Linked DNA regions of Homo sapiens: region 2 is linked to region 1. Evidence: promoter capture Hi-C in 16 types of primary human blood cells and fetal thymus (Javierre and others, 2016). All regions are on one chromosome and are shown on one strand. Each heading gives the region's core, a stretch centred on a gene start or on the middle of the fragment in contact. The rest is flanking DNA. Distances are from core to core; before and after follow the strand shown.

What was found. Contacts are between HindIII fragments. The CHiCAGO score rates a contact against its expected background, and 5 or more counts as called.
Region 2: the fragment with the promoter of ADAMTSL2 here is called in contact with a fragment that was not itself captured in region 1 in 2 of 17 cell types (M1 macrophages and M0 macrophages); the score reaches 7.4 in M1 macrophages.

The regions. Positions count from the first base shown.
Region 1 is chr9:133,992,609-134,000,419 of GRCh38, forward strand. No RefSeq gene overlaps it. Among named protein-coding and RNA genes, the nearest start is that of VAV2, 4.2 kb to the left of the region's middle. RefSeq lists silencers at 1-18, 119-428, 1,876-1,975 and enhancers at 215-942, 839-1,028. The HindIII fragment of the contact is 4,448 bases long and covers 581-5,028 here.
Region 2 is chr9:133,529,535-133,537,345 of GRCh38, forward strand. ADAMTSL2 (ADAMTS like 2) reads left to right here and starts at 5,170. Exons shown (of 19, transcript NM_014694.4): 1 at 5,170-5,383; 2 at 7,029-7,268. The coding sequence starts at 7,179. RefSeq lists enhancers at 435-940, 4,035-4,576, 4,577-5,116, 5,117-5,658, 6,199-6,740 and 1 more and a silencer at 3,687-3,776. The HindIII fragment of the contact is 12,534 bases long and covers 1,277-7,811 here.

The sequences.
Region 1 (7,811 bases), core at 1,555-4,054:
CGGGCGCCGCATTCTGCGCTCGGGGCGCCCCGCGGCCGCCGCGGCTCCTGCCCCGCCCGAGACAAAGGCCCGGCGGGGTCGCTCGCTCCGCGCGTCCCGGGCCTGGGCCGCCCGCGTCGCCGCCGCTTTGTTCGCCCCACCCGCAGTCCCCACGCCCGGCGCTGCGACTCGACGACTCGGCGGCTCGGCGGCTCCACGGCTCCGGGGCGCTGGGGGCGCAGGGGGCGCGGCCACGGCCGGGCGGGGCAGGGGCGGGGCCGGAGCACTCGCCTGGCACCTCCCCGTGTCCCAAGCGCCGCCCCCGCCCCCCCACTTCCTGCCCCGCTACCGCCCGCGAAAGTTGCGGTGGGCGGGGGTTGCGGCGCAGGCCCAGGTCCGGCCGACTTTCTCCAAGGGCGCTCGGACTTTGGGGAGCCCTTCTCCCTGGGGGAGCGACCTCGCCCGTGGAGTGATGGCCGGGCGTCCCCCCGGGTGCCTTTGGTCCTCCGTGGAGGTCAGGAGGTGGTCCCTGTCGCGCTGGGCGCCCTCGCATGGCCGTTCGGTAACGACAGACTCGGGAGAGGGCACCGGGCTGGGCCGAAGCTTACTGAGCCCCCTTGGCCCATCAAGCCGCCCCGGCGGGATACCCGAGGCTGAGGCTGAAGGCACACGGGCCCAGGACTCCCAGAGCCCTCTTCCTGTCCTCCGCCCTGGCCGGGGGCCCATAGGAAGACCCCCGACCCTGCATAAAGGCCAGGATTCCCCAGCTTTTGGCCAAAGTCCTGGCCACTCGCAGCTGCCCAGCGGGCAGTTCCTGGCGTCCAGGGCGGAATGCGTGACATGAGTGAGGGCAGGAAGGTGCTCTCCGGCCCAGGGTCGCAGCCGGCCCCGGTGCTGATCCGCCCTGATCTCCCTTCTAGGCCACACCCTGGGTGGTGGGGGCGCGGTCTGTCCAGCTGGCAACGTGTGACGGTAGGAGGGGCTTCAAGGACAAACAGATTCTGCAACTGAAATTATATGGATCCTGGCTCAGCTGCCGGGAACCGCGGGTTTTCACTGCTGATTCACTGGGGGACACCAGGCAAGTCCAAGCCCTTCTCTGAGACTGGCTCAGCCCGGAGGCTGGGGTGCGGTGTCTGAGGGCTCCCACCCTGGACTCCGGTGGAATCCTGGGCCTGTATGAGCTGGGGCTGCACTGCAGCCCCCGGACCCCTTACCCCGTGGCTTCCCTGCGCAGGGGCCGGAACGGGGATGCGAGCGCAGAGAGGGTCCCCTGGGCCCAGGGCCTCCGATGGGGGTCCTGTCCTGGAAATTGGTCTCTGCAGAGTCAGACTCACCCCTTCTCCACTGAGGTGGAAGCAGGGGGTCCCAGCTTAGGGTCTGGCCCGTAGAGAGAGGTCAGGAAGGAGCTGGCCCCTGCAGCAGTAAACTCAGGCCAGGTGGCTGGTGAGGCGGGGGCTCAGGTCTCTTGCCCTTCCCCGAGGAAGCAGCAGTGGGCACCTTTAGGGCAAGGGGGAGAGCTTTCCTCACCGAAGCAAGATGGGGCAGCAGGTGGACCCATCAGCATCTCCCTAAGAAATCAGAAAGCCAGGAGTGAAACCTGAGCGGGGCCCTCCAGCCCCATCTGAGAGCCTACACTGATCCCTCCTCCTGCAAAGCCTCATCCCCTCCTCTCTAGAGCGGGGAGACCCGGCTCCCACTGGACTTGCTTGTGAAGAATGGACGGATAAATTACCCAGAGGCTTCCCACTGTGCTGGGACAGAAAGGGCTCAGAGAGGAAGAAGAGCTACCCACTCTCCCAACCCCTCGCCTGGACCGCCGGCGCATTGATGCACTAAATGTCTCTTTCCCCAGGTGGCTCCCTCAGCAAGAAGGGGGCCTCTGTCCTCACGGTCCTGGGCCTGCCTGCTCTGGCCAAGAGGACCAGCCAGGTCTGGGACCCAGGCAGCCGCCCGCCAACAATGCCATGGGTACCTGCTGCCCCCTGGTGGTGCTGTCACCACGGGGCACCTGGCTGCACCCAGGAGGGGCTGCACAGAAAATCTGGGGTTGACCGTTGAGAAGACCCAACTCAGGAGACACAGACTTCACCACAGTGGCCCTGAGCCACTCAGGCCTCCCTGGTTCCCAGGTCCTGATCGGCATAGGACATTCACCGGCCCTGTGCACCTCCCAGAATCCTTGGAGGCTCTGAGGGCAGGATGGATGTGAATCAAAGAACAAAAGTTTGGTGGGGCCAGGTACAGCAGCTCAAGCCTGTAGTCCCAGCACTTTGGGAGGCTCAGGCAGGCAGATGGCTTGAGTCCAGGAGTTCAAGACCAGCCTGGGCAACACAGTGGGTCCCTGTCTCAAAAATAAAATAAAAGGTAAAGAAAATGGGGCAGGAGCTCCCTTTGTAACCTTTAGTGTGAGTGTAATGATGAACAGGTTGAGACTGTGGACTCAAGGCACATGCCAGGAAGACTAATAGAGAGGACGCTGTTTGGGAAAATCCTACCACCATCCATGTCCACTTGGACTCAGGGCTGTCTGCCAGGACTGCCTGCTGCACACCTCCAGGGGGCGAGAGTCCCATCACACCTTGGAGATGGGCTCCAGGGGGAGCTGCTTACACAGACTGCCAGTGAGCAGCTGCCAGTCCAGCCGAGCAGATTAAACCAGGGAGCAAGAAGTGCCAGCATGGGCCACATACCCCAAGTATGGGGGAGGGTCACAGGTGGCGGAGGAGGGCACCAGGCAGGGCACACCCGGGGAGGGAGCAGCAAGGCTTCCAGGAGAAACTGAGGTTTGAGTTGACAACCAGAGATTGATCATGGTTGCAGTGACTAGGAGAGGGTGACATGGAGGATGGAGAGCTTGGACAGGAGTTGATTTTTAAACCACAAAGGAATTCAGTGTTGCCATGATCTCAGGCATTGAACAATAAACCGCAGTGTCCTCCTGAGCTCCTGTCTCATTCTCCCCGGCAGCCATGTGGGCAGCGAGTCCCAGCAGTCCACCTTCCTGTTCTGTCCAGCATCTGCCCCCTCCTGGCCCACCCCCACCAAGCCCCAGGCCCCCTCTCCTTGGACCCGCTTCCACCCTTCCACCTGTCCTCCGCAGCCAGCAAGGACCCAGTCGGCCCTCAGTGACACCCTGTCTCTCTTCTGCGCGGATGGGCACCTCGGGGCTCCCGCCTCACTGGAGGTAAAATCTAGCAAATCACTGTAATTGTAATTTTTAAATCCAATATATTCTTTCATGGAAGCCACAGATGCGTTAAACTGATCCAAAGACAGCTTATAAAAGGCAATGTAATCGGAGGCTGGACGTGGTGGCTCATGCCTGTAATCCCAGCACTTTGGGAGGCTGAGGCGGGTGGATCCCTTGAGTCCAGGAGTTCAAGACCAGCCTAGGCAACAAGGTGAAACGCTGTCTCCACCAAAATACAAAAATTAGCCTGGCATGGTGGTGCACGCCTATAGTCCCAGCTACTTGGGAGGCTGAGGTGGGAGGATCACTTGAGCCCAGGAGGCAGAGGTTGCATCGAGTCGAGATCGTACCACTGCACTCCAGCCTGGGTGACAAAGTGAGACCCCATCTCAAAAAAAATAAAAAATAAAAGGCAATATAATCTTATTTATTGACTTGTGGCATATTTTAACACTATCGCTATGTGAATTAACGTTACACTACGTAAGATTGCAGTTACGTCGCACATTGTCACTTTCAAGCCGTTATATTTTAACAGCATTCATAGTTGCAGTAACCAATCCTGTGTCTTGAGTCTGAGTGGCCGGCCTAGGTGATGGTCACCTCCTTTAAACCACAAGCCACTCCATCACTTCTAGTCACTGTTATTGTACTGAGTGGTCCAACATAAAAACCAGCTCACCAAGCACATTGGTGAGCTGCCCAAGGTCACCCAGCAACACAGGAAAAAGCCAAGTCCAAACGCCAGGCCTTATTGACACCTGTGTGCACCCCTAAATAGAGGCTGCTGCTGAAAGGGCTTTCCACGCCTAGAACTTTCTGCTTTCCCTTAATGCACTGATGTGGGTGGGGAGGTGACGAGGGAGGGAAAATGATCTGATGTCTAGAACACGTGGATACGGAGTCAGCAACAGAGCGCAGTGCCTGGAGCCCACAGGCACACCCCCCCGCCCCGCCACTGTGGTACCGAAATGAGCCCTTAGTACAGGCAGGAGTAGCAAGGCTAAGAAACGGGAGCCGAAGGGTCCGACACTGACTTAAAGGAGGGAAGGGCAGCTGGAAGTATATCCACGCATCCTGGAGGTCCTGGAAACCTGGTGACTCTTGGATCCTCGGGGTCCCAGAGAGGAGACCTTTGGAGGAAGGAGTGGGTAGACAGGTGGCTGCCCTTATGTGGGCAGCATGGCTGGGCTTCCCCTCTGGCTTCTCTGCCCAGTCACTCACACCACGAGTGATGCTCCACCTACAACTCAGCACGTCCTTCCTGCACCCAGGCCCTGAGCCAGGACCACCCACACCCTAGGAGGCGAGGACTGTCATCGTACTGTGCTACAGATGAGGTCGGCTCACATAGCTTGAGTGACTTGGCCAAGGTTATGCAACTGGCAGAGTTCAGATTCGAACTCAGGTCCACCTTCTCCTATGCCTCCAGCTGAGAGGTTTGCTTTTGTTTTCTACTGATAAATAATGATTTCAAGGGCAGTGGCACAGGACAATCTGAGTCCACGACCGGCCCAGCGCCCCTCCCCTGGGTTTCTGCAGAGCTGCCCTCATCAAATTGGTGTCCTCATTCTCTGGGCAGCCCCAGGGTCTGGTTTCTGAACAGGAATACATGTGTCCCTTAGCGCGTTACATGCCACAGTGGAAGGGCTTGAGAGTTTACCTCTCACTCAAGACTGTTTCTTTCCATACAGGCCCTCCCAGAGAACCTCCATACAGCCAGAGTGGGCACTGTCTCAGTCCAGTATTCCCCCAAAAAACACCAAGACCTGCTGCAAGGTCTCAGTACTTTTCATCAAAAGGTCCAAGGCTCAGGGGACCCTCATTCCACAGCCAGCATCCCAGGGATAGACTGAAGCTTCTTCAAAGGAGCTCCGCCCAAGGCTGGAGTCTGTCCATCATCCCTCCACCTGCCCCTCCATCCATCCCTCCTATATCTTGCTACCCACTCTTCCATCCATCCGTCTCTCAACCCATCCTTCCATCCATGCCACATTCCTCCACTCATCCCTCCATCCATCCCTCCTTCCATCCATCCCTCCCACATTCCTCCACCCATCCCTCCATCCATCCCTCTCACATTCCTCCACCCATCCCACATCCCTCCACCCATCCCTCCCTCCATCCATCCCACATCCCTCCACCCATCCCTCCCTCCATCCATCCCTCCCTCCATCCCTCCATCCATCCCTCCCTCCATCCATCTCTCCCTCCATCCATCCCACATCCCTCCACCCATCCCTCCACCCATCCCTCCACCCATCCCTCCACCCATCCCTCCTTCCATCCATCCCTCCATCCATCCATCTCTCCCTCCATCCATCCCACATCCCTCCACCCATCCCTCCTTCCAACCATCCCACATCCCTCCAGCCATCCCTCCACTCATCCCTCCCTCTACCCATCCCACATCCCTCCACCCATCCCACATCCCTCCACCCATCCCTCCACCCATCCCTCCACCTATCCCTCCACTCATCGCTCCACCCATCCCGCCGTCCTTCCCTCCATTCACCCCTCCATCCATCCCTCCCACATTCCTCCACCCATCCCTCCCTCTATCCATCCCTCCACCCATCCTGGAATCCACTCTTCCACCCATCCCTCCTACATCCTTCCATCCTTCCCCATCTATCCCTCAACCCATCCTTCCATCCATTCTTCCACCCATCCCTCCCTCCATCCATCCCTCTACCCATCCTTCCACCTATCCCTCCATCCTTCCACCAATCCATTCCTCCACTGTTCCCTCCATCTATCCCTCCGTCCACCCATCCCTCCACCCATCCTTCCACCTATCCCTCCATCCTTCCACCAATCCATTCCTCCACTGTTCCCTCCATCTATCCCTCCGTCCACCCATCCCTCCACCCATCCTTCCACCTATCCCTCCATCCTTCCACCAATCCATTCCTCCACTGTTCCCTCCATCTATCCCTCCGTCCACCCATCCCTCCACCCATCCTTCCACCTATCCCTCCATCCTTCCACCAATCCATTCCTCCACTGTTCCCTCCATCTATCCCTCCGTCCACCCATCCCTCCACCCATCCTTCCACCTATCCCTCCATCCTTCCACCAATCCATTCCTCCACTGTTCCCTCCATCTATCCCTCCGTCCACCCATCCCTCCACCCATCCTTCCATTCATTCTTCCACTCACCCCTCCTATGTCCCTCCCTCCTTCTCCCATCCCTCAACCCATCCCTTCACCCATTACTCCCCCATCCATCCCTCAACCCACCCCCACATTCATCCCTCCCTCCATCTATCCCTCCACCCATTCTTCCGCCCATCCATTCCTCCACCCATCTCTCCATCCATCCACCTATCCCTCCATCCATCCACCCATCCCTCCATCCATCCACCCATCCATCTCTCTATTCATCTCTCCATCCATTAAATTCATCTCTCCACCCCTCCCCCACCCATCCCTCCATTCATCCCTGTATTCATCCCTCTGTGTATCCCTCACATCCCTCCACCCATCCTCCATCCTCCACATAGAAAATACTGACTGAGCACTGGCTTTGTTCATGAGGAAGGGCAAGTGAATGTTTTGACTCTTCCCAACATGATGGGATAAAGGAATTATTCTCATGTCCAAACCACATGAACACACACATTGTGCAAATTCCATTTGTAGCTACATCATGCAAATTCAGCTGTCACAATTTCCTGGGAAATTATAGGTGTAGAAAAAGACCATCTGGCCCACCATGCAGTCAGAGTATGCCTGACTGAATTATTGGGTGGGGGCTTTTACATTTTGTTTGAAAGGGCAAAATATAGATTTTTTACTTCTTGTTCAACTTTCAAAATTAAATCAAATGCCATAATCCATGGATCGTACCCTAAACTGAAATCTCTGAAATCTCACTGCCAAGTGGCCATTGTTTGGACACCTTCCAGTGACTATTTAGGAGACCGGGGCAGTTTTCTGTGAGCACTGCCTGGAGTCTTTGAGCTCATGAGTTCAGGGTCACCTAATCAAGGCTTTAAGGAAGGGGGAAACAGTCTTCCCTCCGTGAATGTGAACGGACTTCATGCAAGTGTAGGCCAGAGGCTGGGCAGCGTGTGGAGGTGGACTTGGGATCTCTGCAGGAGCCCTCTCATCACAGCCCAGCAGGCCAACCCAAAGCAGGAGAGGGAGGCGAGGCCCAGACCAGCTAGGAGGATGAGCCAAGACCCACATGGCCAGCTGTGAGTTATGGGAATGGGTTATGAGTTATGCGATACAAGGGGGAGGCTGGGGAGCCTCCTGAATGTGGTCCTTGGCAGACTCAGCCTGCCGAACTCTGGAAACTTTGGCTCTTACTGAAAGGGAGGCAGCACACCCTGGTGCTAGGAAGACACGGCCAAGGGACACTGGGCTCTAAGCCTGTCCATGCCCTTAATGGCATTCAATGCCACCCTGTCCTGGGCCCCTCCAGCTGTCCTCTAGCCACAGCACCTCCTGAGGCGCAGTAAGGGCACTGCCAAGGAGACATACCCACCCCTACCCTGCTAGACAGCACCCCTGCCAGACCACAGCTCACGTACTCCAACTCTGGGACATTTCTGCCACCCCCAAAGGAGACCCCGTATCCCTTAGCTGCCCTCCTCAACCCTGCCCATCCTCAGCCATGGCAACCACTAA
Region 2 (7,811 bases), core at 3,920-6,419, 460 kb before region 1:
CAGCCTGCCCTTGGGGACGAGACTTGTGGCAGGGTTGCAGCTGGCGGGGATACTGTCGGGGAGCTCTTGCGGGCAGGAGACTCTTTTGCAGGCTTGCTGGGAAGCCTTTCATCTTGGCTGTGGTTCCTCCCAGAGCTGTCTCCCAGACAGCAGGGCTCTGCCTGACCTCAGGCCACAGCCACACCAGGGCTGCTCAGGTCCCTATCCCTGCTCCAGATCTGGAGACAGAGGAGCCTCTTTCTCCTAGAGTCTCAGACCAGGAGTGGCCTAAGCAGTCTCTGTTAGCCATAGACATGAGCTCCCCCAGCTCGAGCTTTCAGCGTTGGCCTAACAGAAAACGCCAGTGCTCCTGGCTGAGAAAGAAGGAGGAAGAGGAGGAGGAGAAACCAAGTTCTGTGGTCCGGCACCAGCTGGTCACCCCTGGGGGCTGCAGTCCCCTCCTCAGGGCAGGCTCTGATCGGGGGCATAGGTGTACCACCCAGGGATGTCCATTCTCCACCCGTGGGCTGAGCCACAGCAGGGTTGATGTTGGCAGGGAGCACTCCCAGAGGGGAATCGGAGTCCTGTGTGTGTGCTGGGAGGACGGAGAGCAGGCCAGCCCAGACCCACACCTCTCAGTGAACCAAAGGCTGCTCCTGACCCCTTTGCAGGCCCTGCGTCCCTGTTGGTCCCAGCCTCTTGTCTGCCCCAGCTTGCCTCTCTACGTGGAAACTTGCCCCTCTTGGGCACCACATCCCTGGGCTTGCAGGGAAAGGAGAAGCTGAGTCAGGGCTCGCAAGGCCCTGGGCTCCAGGAACAGCAGTGGAGGCCATCGGGGAGGGTCCCGCTGCTGGTCCTGGTGGGGAGGCTGAGCACGTCCTGCTGCTCTGGGCTCTCCTGGGACCCAGGTGCACCCCATCCTGGACCAATGACAGGCACCCCATCCTAGCCCCAGACATCTCACAGGCACACTCGAGAGACAATGTGAGAAAGTTGGCCAGGCTGAGAAAGTCCACTTGGACTCAGGCGGGGTCCAAGCCTTGGCCTCAGCTTCCTTCTCTGTCTGGGCGTGGCAGTGTTACCTGATGTGGCATTGTCAGGATGGAGGATGACAGCAGAGTAGACACTGGCCCCGGGCTACCCTTTGGGCTCAGAGCAAAGCACGTGCAGCCCTTCCTTTCTCCACCACCATCCCAGGCCCTTCTCCCATATGGACTCATTTCAGCCTCACAAGAGTCCAGCATGGGGAGTGCCTTATCACCGCCACTTTACAGGTGAGGAAGCTGAGGCACAGAGAAGCTTCTGCCCTCGCCCAAAGTCACCCAGCTGGAGAGAGACGGAGTCAGGATTTGAACCCAAAGAGTCCGGTTCCAGGCACTCACGCGTGAGGCTGCTGTTGCTGTGCTATTGGAAGAGCTGCTGCTTCCTATGCTGAGCCTCCACGCTAAGCCTCTGAGACGGGGCCCTTCTGAGTGTCGGGATCCAAGGTCCTGGGTTTCCTGCTTCACCTGGCTGTGACACCAGTGGCTGCCCGCCCCTGGTCACTGTGGGTGGCATGGAAGAAAGAGCTCACTGGCTTGGTGATGTCCTCCTGCCCCCAGCAGATATCCCTGACACGGGGCATCTCTGGAGGTCATGGCCGTGTGCGAGCAGAGCCCGAGGGGCTGCTGGGGGCTGGGGTTCTTCCGGTCCGCCAGCTTTCAGATGATGCTTCCAGGAGTCCTGGTGCCCAGAAGGGGCCTCAGGGCTGCTGGGGAGAAGAGGGGAAGCAGGAGCCCCCACCTCTGCTTTTGTCTCAGTTGTCTCTTGAGTGTGCCTGTGAGATGTCTGGGGCTAAAAAAGGACCTTGACCTTGTGCAACAGACCAGGAAACTCGGCCTGTCAGGGACAAGTGGCCTGAAGTGACCTGGCCAGCCAGTGGTCGTGCATGGACCTGGGACCAGCCAGGGAAGGCGGGGGAGGCTCTTCCCGTATATCCAGCCCCAGGGGGGTCTCAGGGACAGCTGGCTTCTATCCTGGGCCAGGAAGGAAGCTCGGGGACAGGGACGGCTCTTGGGGTTGCTGAGGCCCCCTCGCTCTTTCCCTGGGGCTGCCTTCTGAGTCCTGGTCCTCTTCCGGGGCTGCCAGCCACCTCCCAGCTGGCCACATGGTCCCTTGGTGGCCCCGTCCCAGTCAGGTGTGAGAACTCTGGCTGGGTCTGCCCAGGAGGCTCCTAGGATGTTCTGGGTCCTGGGCTGGCAACAGAGAAGAACCGCAGGATGCCAGGGAAGGTGGTATTGGTGGGCCACTCTTGAGGCTGTGGCCGGCCAGCCCTATCGGCTAGGTGAACCACACTACACACATACATTTGCCAGGCCTGCTAGGCCTCTGGGTGACAGAGAGGGGACCCACCTCGACAGCTCGGGCCACGTCCTTAAACTCCCGAGCCTGCTGTGGCCACTTTGCTGTGAGGACAGGCCCTGCTCCCACTGCGGCAGCCTAACATCCTCCCCAGGGAACCTCCAAAGTGGTCAGCCACGGCCCACCAGCCCCTCTGCCTCAAGCCTGCTTCTCTATCCCCGCCGTGTTTTCCCTGGAACCCCACCCTCCCGGGCATCCCCCACACATATTCCTGCTGTCCTATTTCTAAGCTCCTCAGATATCTGGAAAACACTGGCGGAGAAAATCCCCTTCTTTTTTTTCTCTCTCTTTTTTTCTTTTTGAGACGGAATCTCACTCTTTCACCCAGACTGGAGGGCAGCGGCGAGATCTCGGCTCACTGCAACCTCCACCTCCCAGGTTCAAGCAATTCTCCTGCCTCAGCCTTCCGAGTAGCTGGGATTACAGGTGCCCGCCACCACGCCCAGCTAATTTTTGTATTTTTAGTAGAGACAGGATTTTACCATGTTGGCCATGCTGGTCTCAAACTCCTGACCTCGTGTGATCCCCCTGCTTCAGCCTCTCAAACTGCTGGGATTATAGGCATGAGCCACTGCGCCTGGCCAACAATCCCCTTCTAAAGGCAGGTGGTGTCTCCAGCACCAGGGCCATACGGCTGCAACACCCCTACAAGTGCCGGTAGGTGTGGGCTGAGACCATCCTACATGGGGAAGGCCCTGAGAGGCCGGGAATTTGCAGGCCGAAGAGGGATCCTGGAGAGTGGGGGACTCACCTCAACAGCACTCTCTAAGGGGTAAGGAGCCCCTGGCATCAGGAGCTACCAGAGCACCTGCTACGTGCCAGTCATGGCTCCCTGTGGGCCTCAAGTCTGCAGGCTCTGGGGTAAGGGGTGGGGGTGGTGTGGAAGTGTGGCTGGCCAGGGGAGCTGGGGCCTGGAGGGTCACACACCTGCAGGAGGTCACAGAGCCAGGGGATGGCTGGCCCCACAGACCCGTCTCCCAGGTGGCCAGCCTGCAGCCTGTGCCGTCCTGCTGAGCCAAGAGAAGACACTGGGGGTGTTTGTGTTGGTCGGCTGTGGGGTCCCTCCCAAGGGAAACCGTTAGTCACCCTGGCGCTGGCTGGATGTGAGGCCACAAACGCCAGGAGAGCTCGGGGACTGTGCCAAGGGGTGCGAGGCCTGGCGGTCACCAGAAGAGAGAGGAAGGGGATGGCAGAGGCACCCAGAGCGAGTGTAATCCGGTCATGTGAGAGGGACTGGGTGTGTGTGTGCCTGTGTGTGTGTGTGTGTGTGTGTGTGTGTGTGTGCTGGGTGACAGGTGCCACCATGTCTGTGATTCAGCACAGCGACCCCAGGGGGCAGTGTGGGCCTGGGTTAGGGTTAGGGTTAGTCCTGGTTCCACACCGCAGGTGGCCCTGTGACTAGGAGCAGCCACCTTGCATCCCAGTTGCCCCAGCAGGAGAATGAGATGAATAAGACTTGCCTGCCCGAGGGTCCCGGGGAGAGAAACTTAAACAACCCGGCAGAGGAGAGAACCCGACACTCAGGAGCGCTGGCATCCCAGCCTTGCCTACTGGAGAGGTGACTTGGTCCCCGAACCTCAGTTCTTCCACCTGTGAAATGCAGATCATAAAGGTGGATCTGGCCTCACAGCTCTGGGCCCGTAGGACAAGCTGGACAGAGGGCAGACGGTATTATCGCTTTCACTACTATTACTGGTGGCTTTCCTTCCCAGCCTTTCTGGTGGGTGGTCAGACACAGGGCAGAACTTTCTCATGAAGGCAGCTGAAGGAACTCACAAGTTTCTTCCAGCAGGGAGGACAGAGGGAAGGAGAAGTGTCTTCCCGGCACTGCTGTGGGCCCAGGACATCTGCTGCATGGAGGCAGGGGCATGGATGAAAAGACACAGATGACCTGATGGAATGGTGCCCCAGCTTCCTCCTCCTCCCCTTTTTGGAGGTGCCTCTGTTTGCCGAGGATGGGCTCTGGGGAAGCTGGTGTGCAGAGGCTAGGTGCCCAGCCTTGCTTTAGGAAAGCCTCACAAAGTCTGGGGCCCGCCGGGAGTTTCCCAGGGGGGCTCTGCTGCTCCACCCACTCTCGCTCCCCTCTGTGCCCTGACTCAGCAGGAACAGAGGCTTGAGCTCCAGGCCTGGCCTGCCAGGGGCTGCCAAGTTGGTGCTGGACATCTGCAGAATCCCTGAGCCTCTCTGCCCTGGCCCTGGCTGCTCTAGCCATCTGGTCAGCAGGCCACGGGCACATCTGTCTCCTCCCTGGAGCCCTTGGTTCATTCTCGCTGGGTCTCCCTGCGTCCCTCCACCTGCTTAGGCCCCTGCATCTCGGGAGCTTTCTGAGGCTCGTGACCTGGGGCACGGTCGTCCCGGAAGTTCAGCCTTTCCCTCCGTACAACGGAGCCATCAGACGGGACACCTCATACATCCCAGACCCCATTCTCAGGAGCCCCAGGGACAGGGCCCGCTCTGGAGGCAGAAGCCGGACAGGCGGGGCTGGGGCTTTGCCACCGCCAGCCTCCCCGGTAACCTCAGGCCAGCGGCTGCTCCGTCTGGACACCCGACATGTGGCCCCCAGTTCTGGACCCGGGAAGAAGGCCTCCCTGCTCGCCGCTCCTGGGCCGCCGCCGCCGGCAGCAGCCAACAGGCAGCTGGGCCGGCCTGGCCGGGCTCCAGAGGCGCAGAGCGGGTTAAAGTGTGCGCCAGGCCGGCCGGCGCGGGCGGGGGAGCGGCCTGGTGGGAAGTGTGAGTGTTCCTCCCCGTCTGCCTGACAGCTATAAAGGCGGCCGCCGGCGCAGAGCCGCCACTGGGCTGCGCCCCTCCCGGGAACCCCCTCTCTTGGATGCTCTTTGAAGTGGGAGAGGGAGGCGGCGCGGGGGAGGAGGGGAAGGGGAGAGGGAGGCCGGGCCGCAGCCTCTGCACTCACGCCGCCCCCGCACGCACAGCGCACCTGGCGCCGTCTGCCCTCCGCAGCGCTCGCCCCTTTCTCTGGGAGGACAACCTGCTGACCCGAAGCCAGGTAGGCCACCTCGTCCCCGTCCCCCTCACGTTGCAGCGTCCACCAGGCCAGCCCACTGCTCAGAGTGGGGCTGGGGGTAGGAGCACCCCGCGCCCTCTGGAGCCGTTACATAACGTGGGGAGGCTTGTGGGGAGGGGTCGGGCCGCAGAGCACGGGGCAGGGTGGCCTCCCAGCACCTAGCCTTGTGCGCCCGGAGCTCTGTGTGCACGGCAGACCTCTCTGCTGCCGCCAGCCGCTGCTTTTGGACCCCAGGGAGGGATGGATCCCCGTGAGCGAGGCCTGGCCAGAAGCCAGTGGTGTCTGGAAGCCTTAATGAAAAAAGCAAGTGTGAGGCCGGCTGGCACCTGTCTTCAGCCGGCAGGCAGAGGCTGGGGCACCCGTTAGCCAATGGCACAGTGGAGGGGGCTCCTGTGGGTGTGAGGCTGAGAGTGCAGATGGAGGTCTGCAGGGGAGGGAGGTGGGGGGCAGGCGGCGGGGGCAGGGGAGGTCAGACTCAGGCTCCCCACTCCAGGGTGCACTGCTGCGTCGTCCGGGCTGCAGTGGTGTCCTTGGAGTGGCCCCTGAAAATCTGCAGGTGCCGGGCCTGCAAGGAAACTCTTCAAGTTGGATGGAGGCTGCTGAGGAGGGAGGGGCAGAGCCCGAGTTGGCCTCTGGCCTGGCAGGGGTGAGGGGTGACCTCCATGCCTTCTTCCCCTGGAATTGGCCAGGCGTGGGGGTCGAGTCCCTGAGTTTGCTAGTGTGCTACCTTGCTGTGTGGCTTTGAGCAGGTTGGCTCCCCTCTCTGGGCTCCAGGTTATGAGTGCAGGCTGCGTGGTTTCTGAAATCCCTTCTCTAACTCGCTGGCAAGTGACCCTCAGCACCTGAGCAAGGCCTGGACAGAGGTCATGGTGGATCTCTGGTCTTCCCTTCCACAGGGCAGGGTCGACGCTGAGGAGGGGGTGGGGAGAGCTGAGGGCCTGGAGGCTGGACAGTCCCTTCCAATGGGCTTGCTTTGACCCCTGGCAGGTGTTTTGAGCCAAGGGTGCTGGCTGTTGGGAGGAAGTCAGCCTTGTGGCCCTGGACTGCTGACATGCTGGCACAAACTGCACCTCCTCCTGCCCTGCCCCTCCCCCAATTCCATCTTCTCTCCGGGGATCGGGAGGCGGCATAGGTACCTGGGTTCTGCCTCACCTGAGTGCCGGCTGTTGCTGGATGCTGACTGTGGAGCTGCTGGTCTAGGGCGAGGCTGCACATTCCCCCGGGACCTGGCCAAGCCCATCCCCATGCACTGACCCTAGCAGCCAGTGGCAGAGGCCATTCTCCTGCGAGGCCAGCAAGAGCTGAGCCAGTTAAAATCCCAAGGTGCTCCTGCCAAGGCGCTGGACTGAGCCCAGGCCCATCCCTTCGAACCAGAGCCTTTCCCCCCGCCTGGGTCCCCAGCCCCCTCAGCCGAGGCTGGCTGTCTCCACAGCCCTTCTCTAGGGGGCTTGAGGACTTGGAGGCAAAGCATGGCATGCTTCCCTGCATGCCCTTGGATCAAGGGTGGCACAGGCTTAGCACGCACACCGCCGCTGGGTGTCTTGCCTGAAGCAGGCATTACTAATCATTCACCAAGCTCCTTCTTGCTAAGCCTAGACTGAGGCGGGGGGTTCATCCTTCCCAACAGGGTCTGCCAGACAACCACGACCAACTAGTCCCAGATAACCTTGAGGCCTGGGCACTGGCTGGGCCCCGAGGGCTCTTCCCAAAGCGTACCCTGGTCATCTGGAAGAGGATCGGAGCTGGCCTGGTGGTGACAGTGGCCTTGCTTCCTAGGATGGATGGCAGATGGCAATGTTCCTGCTGGGCCTGGTTCCTGCTGGTTCTGGCAGTTGTAGCTGGGGACACAGTGTCAACCGGGTCCACGGTGAGTGGGGTGTTGTGGTCTGAGGGCCCATGCCAGTCCCCTACCCAGGTGCTGTGATCACTCTCAGATGGACTGGCTTGGAGGGAGCCGTGTGGGCACGTGCCCCAGGTCCCAGAACCCATCTTGGCTCCTAGAAACTTCTGCCCAGAGCCAGTCAGATCAGCCTCTGAACTGGGGCCCTGGCTACTGTGGAGCCCCTGGCGACTTGGCAGGCGAGGGCTGAGGGGGCTGAGTGCTTCCCTTCCAAGTGAAGGCCCCAGCACGGCCAGGGTAGGCTGTGTCCTGCAGAACGCAGTTGGGCCCTGAGCTGCTCCGGGGAAAGTGAGGACAGTTAGATGCGGCCCCAGGAGCTTGCCAAGCCCCCAGGCCATCCTGGACCTTAAGGTCAAGGAGGACCCGTGGCCCACGGTTCCTTGGGAGTTCCCCCCAGCGCCACCCAGGAGATCTGAACCCAAGCTGCCGAGTGACCCTGCAAGGGGGCCCAGCCAGGGGGCTGTGTCTTCTGGTCCCGCTGACGGTGATACCCTCGGGCATGGGGTGGGG